Regions from separate parts of the Homo sapiens genome. Here region 1 is linked to region 2. Evidence: promoter capture Hi-C in 16 types of primary human blood cells and fetal thymus (Javierre and others, 2016). All regions are on one chromosome and are shown on one strand. Each heading gives the region's core, a stretch centred on a gene start or on the middle of the fragment in contact. The rest is flanking DNA. Distances are from core to core; before and after follow the strand shown.

Evidence for each region. The method cuts DNA at HindIII sites, captures the fragments that hold promoters and counts their contacts. A CHiCAGO score of 5 or more calls a contact.
Region 1: a contact is called between a fragment that was not itself captured here and the fragment with the promoter of NBEA in region 2, in 1 of 17 cell types (total B cells). The highest score is 6.5, in total B cells.

What each region holds. Positions count from the first base shown.
Region 1 is chr13:33,535,708-33,542,362 of GRCh38, reverse strand. It overlaps a transcript of STARD13 not described here. Among named protein-coding and RNA genes, the nearest start is that of LINC02344, 200 kb to the right of the region's middle. The HindIII fragment of the contact is 6,829 bases long and covers 1-5,949 here.
Region 2 is chr13:34,939,005-34,945,325 of GRCh38, reverse strand. NBEA (neurobeachin) reads right to left here and starts at 3,056. Exons shown (of 59, transcript NM_001385012.1): 1 at 2,212-3,056. The coding sequence starts at 2,505. It overlaps LOC124903231 (a long non-coding RNA gene), which reads left to right and starts at 3,136. Exons shown (of 2, transcript XR_007063908.1): 1 at 3,136-3,186; 2 at 3,624-4,005. RefSeq lists silencers at 1,416-1,505, 2,565-2,684, 3,125-3,194 and an enhancer at 3,365-3,474. The HindIII fragment of the contact is 4,572 bases long and covers 1,228-5,799 here.

The DNA of each region.
Region 1 (6,655 bases), core at 1,286-3,785, 1.4 Mb after region 2:
TATAAGAGGTAAAACTGGATCTGTACTGTTTTCTTAGTCCTTAGCGATCCAAATGCAGTCTGGGTGCGGTCTCAGTGCTAAGATGGACCCAGCCTTCCCCTCTAAATCTTAGTGAACCGGCTTGATCCCCCGGTCTGTTCATCTTTCAGTGTTTATTCTGAGAAGGTAGGGGTGTCACAAGGAATAAAAAAGGCACGCAAACAAATAGACTACTCGTGTGGAACCAAAAACATTTTCAAATTATTTAAGAAAGCATGTCTTCGTGTTTTTTAAACTTTTTAGCAAGCGATTCTCTTAAGGAGTTTAGTTTTTAATTTTTGTCGATACACAGTTTTATATTCTGTGTTTTCTGGTGTGGCCTTGGTCTTTTATCAAATTTTAAAGGAAAGCCTCTTGTGCAGATGTGTTACAAAGAAAAATTTTGTCATTTTTTCACTTTTGAATTTTGGAGGACCATAGTAGTTTCTGAAAGTGCATTGGCTTTGTTTTTAGATGCTGCAAGGAAACAACCAAGTGTGTTGCAGAAATAAAATCTGTATGAATCTGCATCCGCTCCGTTTAATTTTAAACTAATTCCAAAAATGTCATCTGTGCAAAGTGCTCAGTTCTCCTGGAAAATTTCTTCAGCCTTGGTAAACACTTTTATCTGGATTTCAAAGCTCTTTGCAGTCCAGGGCCTATATAAAAACAATCCTTGTAAAAGCCAGAGGGAAAGGAATACAGGCTTTTAAGTAGATATTTTGAAAGAAACAGCAGTGGGCCGGAGGATATAAGAAAGATTGTCCGAAATTGCCAAATAAGTGTATTTCATTGTTTTTTGCTAAAACCGTTTGATAGTCTGGGTAGTTGGTACTGGAAAAAACGCTGCTGTGACGTGAGGAGTACTATGGCACCTGTTTATGTAGAAGTTAGGGGGATATTGCAATATCATTCAAGATTGGTCAGAAATAGGGCAAGAAGGAGGCAGGATATCCAAAGGGGAAGAAAAGGGGAAAATGTTGGAAGATACTAGAAAACACGTGAAAGAGGTCAGAGCTGAAGCTGTAATAGGTCTTCAAAGAGTGATCTGGAAGATTGCAAAATAGCTTTTAGACCCTAAAATCAAATGTGTGGAATATGGAATCAGTTTATTTCATCATTGCATACTTCAGCTTTGGCTATATCCCATTTAGTTGCTTACTTTTTTTTTTCGACTTTCCCATCTTTCTCTACATCGTATATAACCAACCTTAAATTGAGGGATTGCTTCATTTTGCTACCATTATACTATAAAGTTACAGTAACATAGCCCTTCACAGTTCAAAGAGTACACATATATTCAGAAATAGTGGCATTGACTCCTTTGCAAATATCCTCAACTCTTATCCCTCACTTTTAGCACTTCCCTGGCAAAACTCAAACCATGGATGAACTCCTGCATGCATTTATCTTTTCTGAGCTTGGGCTCAGCCTGTTAACTGTTGGGTGGACTAGTGTGATCTCACACCTAAATTGGCTCTGCATATTGATCAGCTCTCCTACTCCTTTGCTTTACTGACTTTGCCCTTTCCTTCTGTAATCCAAATATCTCATTCTTTTCCTTCCTCAAATTATCAACTTCCTCAACTAATGACTTTGCCTCACACTTTATTGAAAAAAGAATTGTGAGCATAAGCCAAGAATTTTTGTGTATTCCCACCATCGAATCTATTTGTGTCTGCACTCATCAAACATCCTTGTATAGGAACCCCCTTTATACATGGTATTGCTTTCCATAGTTTCAGTTACCAACTGTCAACCGAGGTCCAAAAATATTTAATGGAAAATTTCAGAAATATAAATTTTAAATTGCTAGAAGTTCTAAGTAGTGTGATGAAATCTCATGCTGCCTCTCTCTGTGCCTCCCAGAACGTGTATCCTCCCTTTGTTCAGCATCCACTATCACAGTTATCAACTATCACCATATCACTGAGCTTGGATTCAAATAACCTATATTTTCCTTAATAATGTCTCCAAGGCCCAATAGTAGTGATACTGGCAATTTGGATATGCCAAAAGAAGCCTTAATGTGCTTCCTTTAAGTGGAAGGTGAAAGTTCTCGACTTAAGGAATCACCTAAGGTCACTAGGAACCAAGTGGTTGGTAAGAATCAGTCTTCTATCTGTGAAATTATGAAGAAAGAAAAAGAAATTCGTGCATAATATATTTAGGGTAGGGTACTCTCTGAGGTTCAGGCATCCACTAGGTTCTTGGAACATTTCCCCTGAAGCTAAGGGGGAACTACTATAGTTTAAAAGGGTGACAGGTCTTTTTATCAAATGCCAACACTTGCTATTTTTAGTTTTTAGTTTTAGCCATTAAGTGGGTATATGTTCAAAACTTTTGCCCATTTTAAAACTAAGTTGTTTGTAATTGAGTTGTAGGAGTTATTTACATACTATGCGTATGACTTTTTTGTCAGAAGTATATGTTGTGAATATTTTTCTCCCAGTCTGTGGCCTGCTTTTTCATTTTCTTAAAAGTGTCTTTTAAAGAGCAGCTTTTGTTTGTAAGTTGTATATTTGTAGGGATTTGTACGTATCCAAATATTCATTAGCATAAAGCTGTTCATAAAATCCTCTCATTTCTGAGATTCACAATATATCTTATTTATGTTTACGATCCACTTAATTTTTAGTATGGCACAATAATGGTTGATAGTCATATTTTTCAAAATAGAAATCCTGTTATTCTGGTAGCATTCGTTAAAAAGATTATCCTTCATTGAATTACCTTGGCACCTTTATTAAAAATCTGCCGATCTTCTGAATTTCTATTCTATTCAATTTCATTGATAAATATGTCTGTTCTTAACCCAGTCCCACACTGTATTGATTACTGTAGCTTTATACGTCTTGAAATCAGATAGTGGAAGTATTTTTTTCCTCAAAATTACTTTGGCCATTCTAAGTCCTTTGCATTTTAATATAAATTTTTAAATTGTCATTTCAATTTCTAAAAACATCTGCTGGGATTTTGAATGGGATTCTGTTAAATTTATTCATCAGCTTGGAGAGAACTGACATCTTAAAAATACTGAGTTTTCCAATCTATGAACATGGCATATATCTCCTTTTATTTTGATCTTTAATTTCTGTTTGTAATTTTCAGCATACAGGTATTGCACATACATTGTTAAGTTTCTTCCAACACATTTCATGGTTTTTATTCTAAGTGTATTTTTTTAGTTTAAGTTTTCAGTTGTTGAATCATTTTATTTTAGTTCTAGAATTTTCTTATGCATAGATTCTACGTCTCTAGTATTAATAAATGCAAGGCCGGGCGCAGTGGCTCACGCCTATAATCCCAGCACTTTGGGAGGCAGAGGTGGGCGGATCACAAGGTCAGGAGATTGAGACCATCCTGGCAAACACGGTGAAACCCCGTCTCTACTAAATATACAAAAAATTAGTCCGGCATGGTGGCAGGCACCTGTAGTCCCAGCTACTCAGGAGGCTGAGGCAGGAGAATGGTGTGAACCCGGGAGGCGGAGCTTGCAGTGAGCCGAGATTATAACACTGCACTCCAGCCTGGGTCACAGAGCCAGACTCCGTCTCAAAAAAAAAAAAAAAATTAAATAGTTTGTGCCCATTAACTCCAGTATTTGGATCATCTGTGGATCTTGTTTCCATTATCTTTTTCTTCTGTTTCCTGGTATGCCCAGAAATTCTTTATGAAATGTTGTCTTTGTTTATGAAAAAAAAAAAAATACTGGGCTCTGAGTGGTGTTTTTTACTTTATGGAAGTATTTGTAGGATTTACTTTTGCTTCTATTAGGAAGCTAGGCTAAGGGCAGAGCACCTTAATCTAATATGGAAGTGAGATTATTTCAAACTGGTTTTTAGACTTTGTTAGGTCTCGTCTATTTCAGGTTCTTTCTTACTCCTGAGGTGACCCTTTCTGTGTCCCAGCTAAAAGCCGAGGTGTTAGGCCTTCCCTCTTTCGTGGGCCCTGAACTCGCATTTTTATTTTCTCAATCAGTGGACTCCTGAAAGCAATCTCTTCTCAGCTTCTCTGCTTCTTAGTTGCCATTATCTGTGTAACTTCTCAGCCTCTGAAACAACTTCCAAATTGATGAATAAGGTAAGGGGAAAAAGAGAGTCAAATATGGGCAGAATTTTCTGCACCCTTCTTCGGGATCTTGCCCTCTCAAGATCCTTTTTGTATTTTACTCAGATTTCCCTAGTTCTTCACGGTTCAGAGGCGGGGTCATTTTTTTTTAAATCCTCGTAATCTGAGAGTCTTTATGCTAATAAAGATAGGCTCATTTTTCTGAACTAGTGTCAATACTTTTTGTTTCTAAACATCAGAAGCAACACAGAAGACATGGAAGTGACTTTCCGTCTTAATTCCAGAGGTGTTTGTGGGGCCTCCTGGCAGTGGTACCCCCTTGCCACAGATGGGTTCCTAGGCAATGCCCTAGTTCTCTTTAGAGTTGGCCTGACTCTGTCTTCTGTATGGGGAAGCACCCTCTGTTCCTTTTGCTGAGAGATCAGGGTAGTTCTGTTTCCAGGCGAGCTAAACATGACTATGCTGTAGCTGTAAATTCAGTCTGTCACCTTTGGTACTCTTAAAATACAAGCATATGTTCTAGTCAGGCAAGAAGAAATACATCTTTTCTTTTCTTTTCCTTGTTGGTTTTTTAATTTTTTTTTTATGCCAGTAAAGAAATATACACTTCCCGGCCAAGCCCGAGAGTGGATTTGATTTTTTACCGTAATTTCAAGGAATAATTATATAAAACATTGCCCACAGGTCTGTGAGTGTACTGTAGAAAGATCGAATGATCAGGACTTAATCCAAGACCCCTCACTTTCTGCATGGGTGTAATTGAGCGTTATTTAACTTTTCTGAGCCTCAGTTTCCCTAAAGTGTCAAATAAGATACCTACTTGCCAAGACTGGGTTTTAATAAGATTGTTTGTAAAATGTCTGATACATAGTGGGTTCTTTATTGTTTTTAAAATTATTTATACAAACAGTTTTAACTTCAAGGGGGAATGTTAGTCATAACTTGTCTGCGTAGCAGCAGTATTTCGGAAACCACAACATTTCCAGATTTCTGCTCATCACTTAGTTTGTTTTATTCAGTAAACACTGATTGGACTCCCACTAAATGCTGAATGCTGCACTAGGACGCAAAACCAATGAAACAATAACCTTTCTCACAGCTATGTAAACAACTTGTTCATTTTATTGAAAGCCGTGCTCAGAACTGTTCTGGAAGTTTACTCATCTGTAGTGCTCAAGTCGTGGTATTTGCTCTCTTGCTGCTATTTAATGAATCCTGAAATTGTTTTTGTAACCTAAAATAAAATTTTTACTATGATAAAATAACCTAAAAGAAAATCTGATTAAAAAGTTTATTTAATGTGGAATAAAATTTAAAGCAGCTCTAATATGAATAGCAAGGGAATTTTGTTACTAACAAACCGATAGAACAATATAATGAGGCAGTTTCACTAAGACTGTATGACAAAATGGAACCTGAACTCTGCTCCAGTGTATTAATAATTAGTGTGACTTTTACAGAGATTGGAGTATAGGCTGTTATCAGACATCACAGGGAAGTTCTGTTCAGTAAGCTGGCAGAAGCAATTTCTTCTTTCTTTAAAGAGGAAAACCAGGTGGTTTTACAGTTGAGTGTTCGTTAAAAGAGGTATCTACCAGTTTTTCCCTTTTAATTCTGCTTTTCAGATTGTGCTAGCCCAGAGAGAGTTATAAATCCCTTGAATATAAGACATTGACTTCAGTTTTTATTGTCACCTCTCATATACATCCCTAATGTTTATCTAATTTTTATCTTACCAAGACAGCATAATCATTATGCAGTAAATATAGACTGAGTAATATTACAACATTCTCAGATTCAGGAGACTCTCCCATGATGGGAAAATATATTTCAGAATCAAATACTCTTATTTCCTAAGCTTCGTTTTCTTTATTATTTTTTATTAGTTTTCATTTTCCTAACTTATAGAATAAACAAATGCAGTTTGGAACAATTAAAAAGTTTCTTACAGTTATTGATGATAAAACAGTCCAAATGATGTTACACTAAATTTCATAAATTCCTGGCTTTAAAAATACGTATGATGTAATGGCATGTTAAATAATGGCCAGCACAATTTAGTTGTCTTATTTGCCATTTCTGTTTTGCTTCACCATTTTACCATTTTATTTTCCACCTTTGAGTCTTCAGTACTCTTAACTGTATCACTGAGGATTGACAATCCTATATATTTAATTTATTTACATGCACACACGGAAAATGGAATGTCACATCTAGAGTAGCTTTCCCATAACCCAGCTCTATTCATGTCCCCCAAATCACTGATGCTCTTATTCCAGATCATGATGAGGACCAACTGGGGTGTAAGCCTGACCTCTGTGTGTTCTATAAGGGATCACTCAGTCCTCTTCCATTCCAATAATTTAAGTATAGATTTTCGGACTGCCATCTCGCCTTGTATAATATGCTTAGATGGAATCAGTAAAACAAATGTGCCTTTTATTTCCCTGAATGGGATTATTGTAAAGAAACAAGAAGCCATCAATAAGGGGGCAAAGTTCCCTTTATCCCCAAAACACCAATAGTCACATTTGAGGGCTAGAACATATTTACTTCAGCTTTTGTG
Region 2 (6,321 bases), core at 1,807-4,306:
AATTTATACTCCACAATTAATATAATTAACAACTTAGTAATAAACAGCTCCTTTTGTCATTTATTCTTTTCTCCAAAAGTTTCTATTTAAAAATCTATTGCATTCTTTAAATACATACAAAGAAATTTTAAACCTAACTCTTTAAATTCCAAATATCATTGCAGTTACAAAATCTTAGGTAGATTTGGGGATATACTATCTCAGTATTACTTTATTTCTAGTGACTCTAAGCTTAATGGTAAAGTTCTCTAAAATAACGTCTGCATACTGAAACTTCATGTCAGATTTTCATTGCTCTGAAGAGTTAAATTTCTTTTTTATCTCAAGAGAAACATTTCACTTCCTTTCTTAGTCTACCGTATATCTAAAAAACCCCATCTGTTAAGAACTGATTCAGCACACATTGCTACTGCTGCAGAGTCCAAACTGGTTATACATTCAAATCAGTTTCCAGGTTGTGAAAGCTCTACTGCCTCTTACCAGGTTAAAATGTATTAAGTAAGCATAGGAATACTTACTAAAATAGCCTAATATAATCTAACTTAAAAATGATATTGGTTAGATCAAAACTGCAACTAAAAATGTGTTCCTTTAAATTACAGAAATACAGTTACCTGCTAACATACTAACAGTTTGAGATTTATCTTCTTTTAAAAAGAAATGGCAAGTACTGACCTCTTATTTGCAGCTAGTTAAAATTAAAACTCAAGAAAACTGTATTTCTAGTAGTGTTCTGAAAAGAACTTGGTTATATCAACTTAGTGACATTCCCTCAAACTTACACTGACTTTTCATGATGATTTATTTGAAAGGTACAAAAAAGTAAAAAGAGGTGTTTTGTTTTAAACAGCAATGAATATAACAAAGACAGATAATCTCCTTTGACCTGACACACTAGCAAAAGGAAAAAAACAGCTTCAACTTTTCTGTGCATTTACGAGGTTCATAAACCGTAGACATTATCTAATGCATGTCTCAGGACACCACTGATGTAGCTGCAGCTTTCTCTCAGTTTTCCAATAGAGTAAGTAAAAATAATTGCTTAGCTGAAAAATGACTGCATGGGTGTTACAAAGTACCCCTGTAAGCATATTGTTATATTCCTGTGACCCCACACCAAATACAATACTCAACTGATTGCTCTCGATTTATGTCTTGCCTCCCAAAGCCCAACCTTACAGTATGTCAAAGACTAGATCTATTGCAGAGAAAACTGTTTAAAAAGCTTGGCTGCATTTAAAAACAAAACAAAACAAAACAAAACCTCCATTTACAAAGCACTAAATATGAACTACTGTTAATTATCCTCAATGTATGATTCTCCTCTCCTTCTTTCCATTTCTTTCCCTGACATCTTAAACGCTTCTGAGCCTCTCTGTAGATAGCGCAAAACATTAAGTCATACACACTTCTGCAGTAACTCTTTCTTACCATGAAAGGAACCAAAACCTAGGGCTGCGTTTAAAACCTTTCCTTTAGTCTTTACCCACATGCCACACTACTGAAAGTAACCACAGAAATCAACCTGTGTGATTTGGTGTCCTCACACACCTTGTGTGCACAAAAAATGACTAAGAGATCAGTATATTCAGGGCAATATTACAAAGAAGGGACGGCTGCTTCTGAGATGGAGGGGGATGGATACAGACACAACACTCTCCATCATGGCCTTGGAATATTTAAAGACAGATGCAAAACTGCATCATTTTCTGTCTCCTTCGAAAACATCACACCCCAGCTGCTCAAGTTGGAAGCTAATGCGCTTCTCACATTTCAGCAGCACGGGGGAATTTAGGCTCCAGGGGCAAGGCTGTCATCCTCGGAGAGCGACACCAAGGACAATTAAGTGTGAGAAAAAGAACCCCAGAGAACAGGAGGCCTCCTCACCTCCTAACTAAACTCTAAAGTCGACCCAAAACCTTCACCGCGGGTACTGGGTTACTCGCGGTCCTAAAAAGTGAGAAGAAGCGGTGTTAAGTTGGGCACTGCGCTCAGGTGGCAGGAGAGGACCAGAAAGAGGAGAGGAGGGAGGTGGCGTGGCTCTAGCAGCGCGCAGGCAGGTCACCCGCTGGGCAATACCGGCTGAACGCTCTGCGCTCCCAGGGACGCGCGGCGCGTGTGACCCTGGGGGTGAAGGGTGGGAGGGAAAGGCGCTGGGGACGGTGTATGTGGGGACTGGGGAAGCAGATTGAGAGCACGCCTTTTCCTTACCAGGTTGAGCACCGTCTCCACGATGTCCCTGTTGCTGACCTCTCCGACCTGTATGAGTCCAATCAACACTGCGAATTTCATCCGGATGTTGCGGATCGGCACCGAAGGGTTAATCATCCCCGCGGGGAGCATCACCGAGCCGGAGCCGGACGCCCCCCTTAGCTCCCCCATCCCGCTGCCCCCGGTGCCGCCACCACCGCTGCCCCCGCCGCCTCCGCCAGCGGCCCCGACGGCAATGAGCCCCACGGGCTGAGGCTCGAGCCCCGGGCCCGGGCCCGGCTTCTCGCTAGCCATTGGCCCCCCTCCTGAGGAGAAGGGAAGAGCAGCGGCGCTGCCGCCGCCGGTACCGTTATACCTGCCTCGGCCCCCGCCCCCCGGCCGTCGCCTCGGAGCCCCAGCATCCACCAGCGCCGCGGCGCCGGGCCCGCTCCCCGCCTGCGCCTCAGCCCGGCCCGCTCCGGCGCTCTCCCCCGCGGAGGCGGCGGGGGATCCGCAGGCTTATTCTCGGCGGTGGCGGTACCGCTAACCGCTGCCGGGCAAGCGGCTGTGCCCGCCCAGCAGGTGTGCCGCTGCCGCTGCCGCTGCCGCCGCCGCTGCCTCTGCTCTCTCCCTCTCCCGGTCTGTCCGGCCCGGCCCGCCCCCCGCGGAGATGCTGCAGCCGCTCCGAGAAGCCCGAGGACGCGAGCAGCTGGCCACGACGCTGGCCGGTGCTGAAGCTCAGGCTGTGGCCGATGCTATTGACGCTGCTGCCGCCGCTGCTACGGCCACCACTGTTGTTGTGAAGCCCCGACGCCGCCGCTCACTCCGCCATGTTGCCGCCCCCTGCCTGCGGTAGCAGCCACTGCGCCTGCGCACAGCCTCCGGGGGGGCGGAGCCCTCGGTGCACCCCCTCTTTTGCCCTGCCCTCCTTCTCTTCCCACCCACCCACCCCGACACCCCTCGTCCCTCCCCCAACCACCCCGAACGGATAGACAGGTGAGCAGGTGCATGGGGACTGCTGCCAGACACTGGGGCAAGCTGGCAGAGGCGGGGCGGGTAGTGGCTTCCTTGTGGTTTTTCCCTTGAGGGCGGATTCTCCCTTTGGGGAAGGACACAGTGTGCATGTCTTGCCTTCGCTGCCACCTCCTCCTTCTCTCAATATCCTCTTGCTGGGAGGAGGTTCCTCATCTCAGTTGTTGCATCCAGCTGCTGCTACTGCCAGTGCCACGTGCCTTGTAAGGTAGGGGAGTGGCAGACGACCTCTTTCTGCCCCTCCTCGCCCTTCCTCGCAGTCCTGTCCGCCTGCCCTCCCTAGAATTTCCCAAAGAAAAAGTGGCTGGCAAAGCAGAAACAAACGCGCGGGGGGGCGGGGGGGCGATCCTGCATTGTCGGGGGAAGAATACAGACGGAGTGTAATGGTGCTTTTTCTACAGCCATGAAAGAGGCTGACACCTGCACACTCAGGCACGACTTAAAATAGAACTTGTCAAACAGTGATCCTCTCTGGATCAAGCTCGGAACAACAAACAGCTCTTGAACTCGCCTCCCAGCCTAAAAAGACTGCAGTGTGTGACACTGTGGGGTAGTTTGGTGGGAACGACAAATCCCACACTTTCAAAATCCTGACAATCCTCAGGTATGATGCCAATTATTAATGTTTCCTTTTTTCACAGGCACGTACAATTCAGAGGACTTTCGAAATTATCTAAAAACATGGGTGATTCTCACTGCCAGCCTTGTCTGTGAGAAAAGTACATATCTATGTCTGCACAGATACGAGACAAAAAATAAACCTTTAATTTTTAAAAATTAAAATGTACACAGTAATCTTGCTGTTAGTATTGAATTAAAACTAAATAGGCATGACTGTTCCTTGAAAGGAATGATATAATTTTCTTTAATATTTCATGAGGTCTTCCCTTTTCAATAAAGATTATTGCAAGTCACCAGAAATATTAGGTATCTTGAGGTATATTCAGATCGTTTTAATTGTCCTCTCAAATGAAAAAGGTCAATATACAAATCCACCATAATCAGTTTTGTTATTATTCATATTTAATTGGACCTGCCAGTCAAGTTAACTCCCAGGATATGGGAACACGGTAAAATTCTAAGTACCACAGGTTATAAAAAAGTTCCTCAAAACCAGTACTTAGGATGAATTCTTGGTTGCATGTCTGTTTGTTTAAACTTGCACCAAAGTGATTGAATTGTTAAAGTAGTTAAGCAAACACTTCTGAAAGCAGTGGTAACTAGCATGTCCATTTAAATTAAATGGCAATTGAATTATAAAATGCTAGAATGCTTGAAACTGTACGGGAAATTTACAAAACATACAAGTCATAATAGTATGACTTGAGATATACTATATAATTGAAAAATCCTGTAACGTTTATATCCTTCTACTACATTTTTGTCTGTCCCAAGTGAGTATCATCTGCTTTTAAGAGTACTGTTTCATTTGCAAATTTAAAATGATATCTTTGTAAAATACATAAATCTAGACTGAAAGGTTGTCACACTAAGTTTTTTTACCCACTGTGCATATATCTATATGGCAGCAGGTTCTACCTTTTGCTATTTTTAGACTTCTTGCATGAGTACTTTGAGAGACAGTGACAACCTGAACTTTCTATTTCCTTTCTGAATGAATAGCTTAACATCATTTTTAACATTTCCATTTTGATTTTTCTTGTATTTTTTCTTAAGTAGTATGTATATGCAGTTGGTTGTATTTTTCTGCTCATTTTTCTTAGTGAAGATAGTGAGTGGGTAAAGATAATATCACCATTTCTAAGTAGGAAAACTCCACTTCTTTTGCCTACTTAATTCAATTTCAGAGATATTTAAAAGAGCTTACCAATTAAAAATCTTTCTCCAGTAGACAATCAGCTCCTCGCAGGCGCTATGATACTGTGGAAAGTGCATGATTCTTTGAGTCATAGTTACAACTTACTACCTTTGCAGTCTACTCAAGCTATTTGAGTTTCAGTCTCCTGGTTCCTTAAGTAGGAATGATAATATGTGTTTCATAGGGAAGTAAGAATTCCATAAAATAATTTCAGCTGAGCAGCTAGCATATAGTCAATGTGTCTTTGTGTCCTTAGTATACAGGCATGTGTGTTGCATGACCTATAAACACATGTAATACCAATTATAACCACATACAAGTCTGCATAATTGCACAGTTATATGTCTTCCATACCATCCCAAAAGCATAAAGTTCAGAAAAGTCAACAGGTCTATTTCTTTTTGGCCTACAAAACCTTTTCCCGGAAAATGTGCAAATAACTTTACATTTACATTAACAATATTTTGAAAGAAAAGCTACATAATAATAGAAGATACCCAATATGTATATTTTTAAATCTCCAGATTAAAAAATATATTTTATGTGGTGAATATTAATTTTGTATGCATTTTTGCATACCCATACTTCCTAAGGACAATCATTCAAAGATAAGAAACCTGTGAATCTGAGTTTCAGGAAGCAATATTGCAGAGAGGTTGAGAAGTCATGCCCCAGATTCAATGGAAGCTGGATTTAGATTCTAGTTCCACCACCACTTATATGTGTGATGTTGGGAAAATGACTTTAGCTTCAAAGCTTCAGTTTACTCAACCCAAAGTAAGGATGATAATACTACTTTATAGGATTAAAGGAGCTAATACATTTAACGTACTTAATGTAGTAGTAAGTGGCAATCAATAATGTTTCCCTTCATTGGCTGCCGGAAAATACCCACAGTTATTTTGTGTCATTATTTTTGGGTTTTTTTTTTTTTTGCACCTACCTTGCCTGACATAATTTACATTGAATAAATATGTTCAAAAATGAATGGATGGAAACAGCCGTTCTCCACACTATTCCCGTTTCCTTCACCTGTTCTTTAAAGAACACATTTCTTGCTTTCCTCTAAACTTTATCTGAACAGAATACTCCAAATTCAATGTGGGTTTAGACCTGTATAAAACAGAGGGAAATTCTTACCTCACCCTCAACCTTTAGCAATATAGCTCCTGTTAATGTTGCCCCAAATCAAATTAGATCTGTTTGGTTTGTTTTGGTTTTGGATTTTTTTCTTAACATGACACTAATGATTCGTGTAATGTAGTAATGATTCACATTTG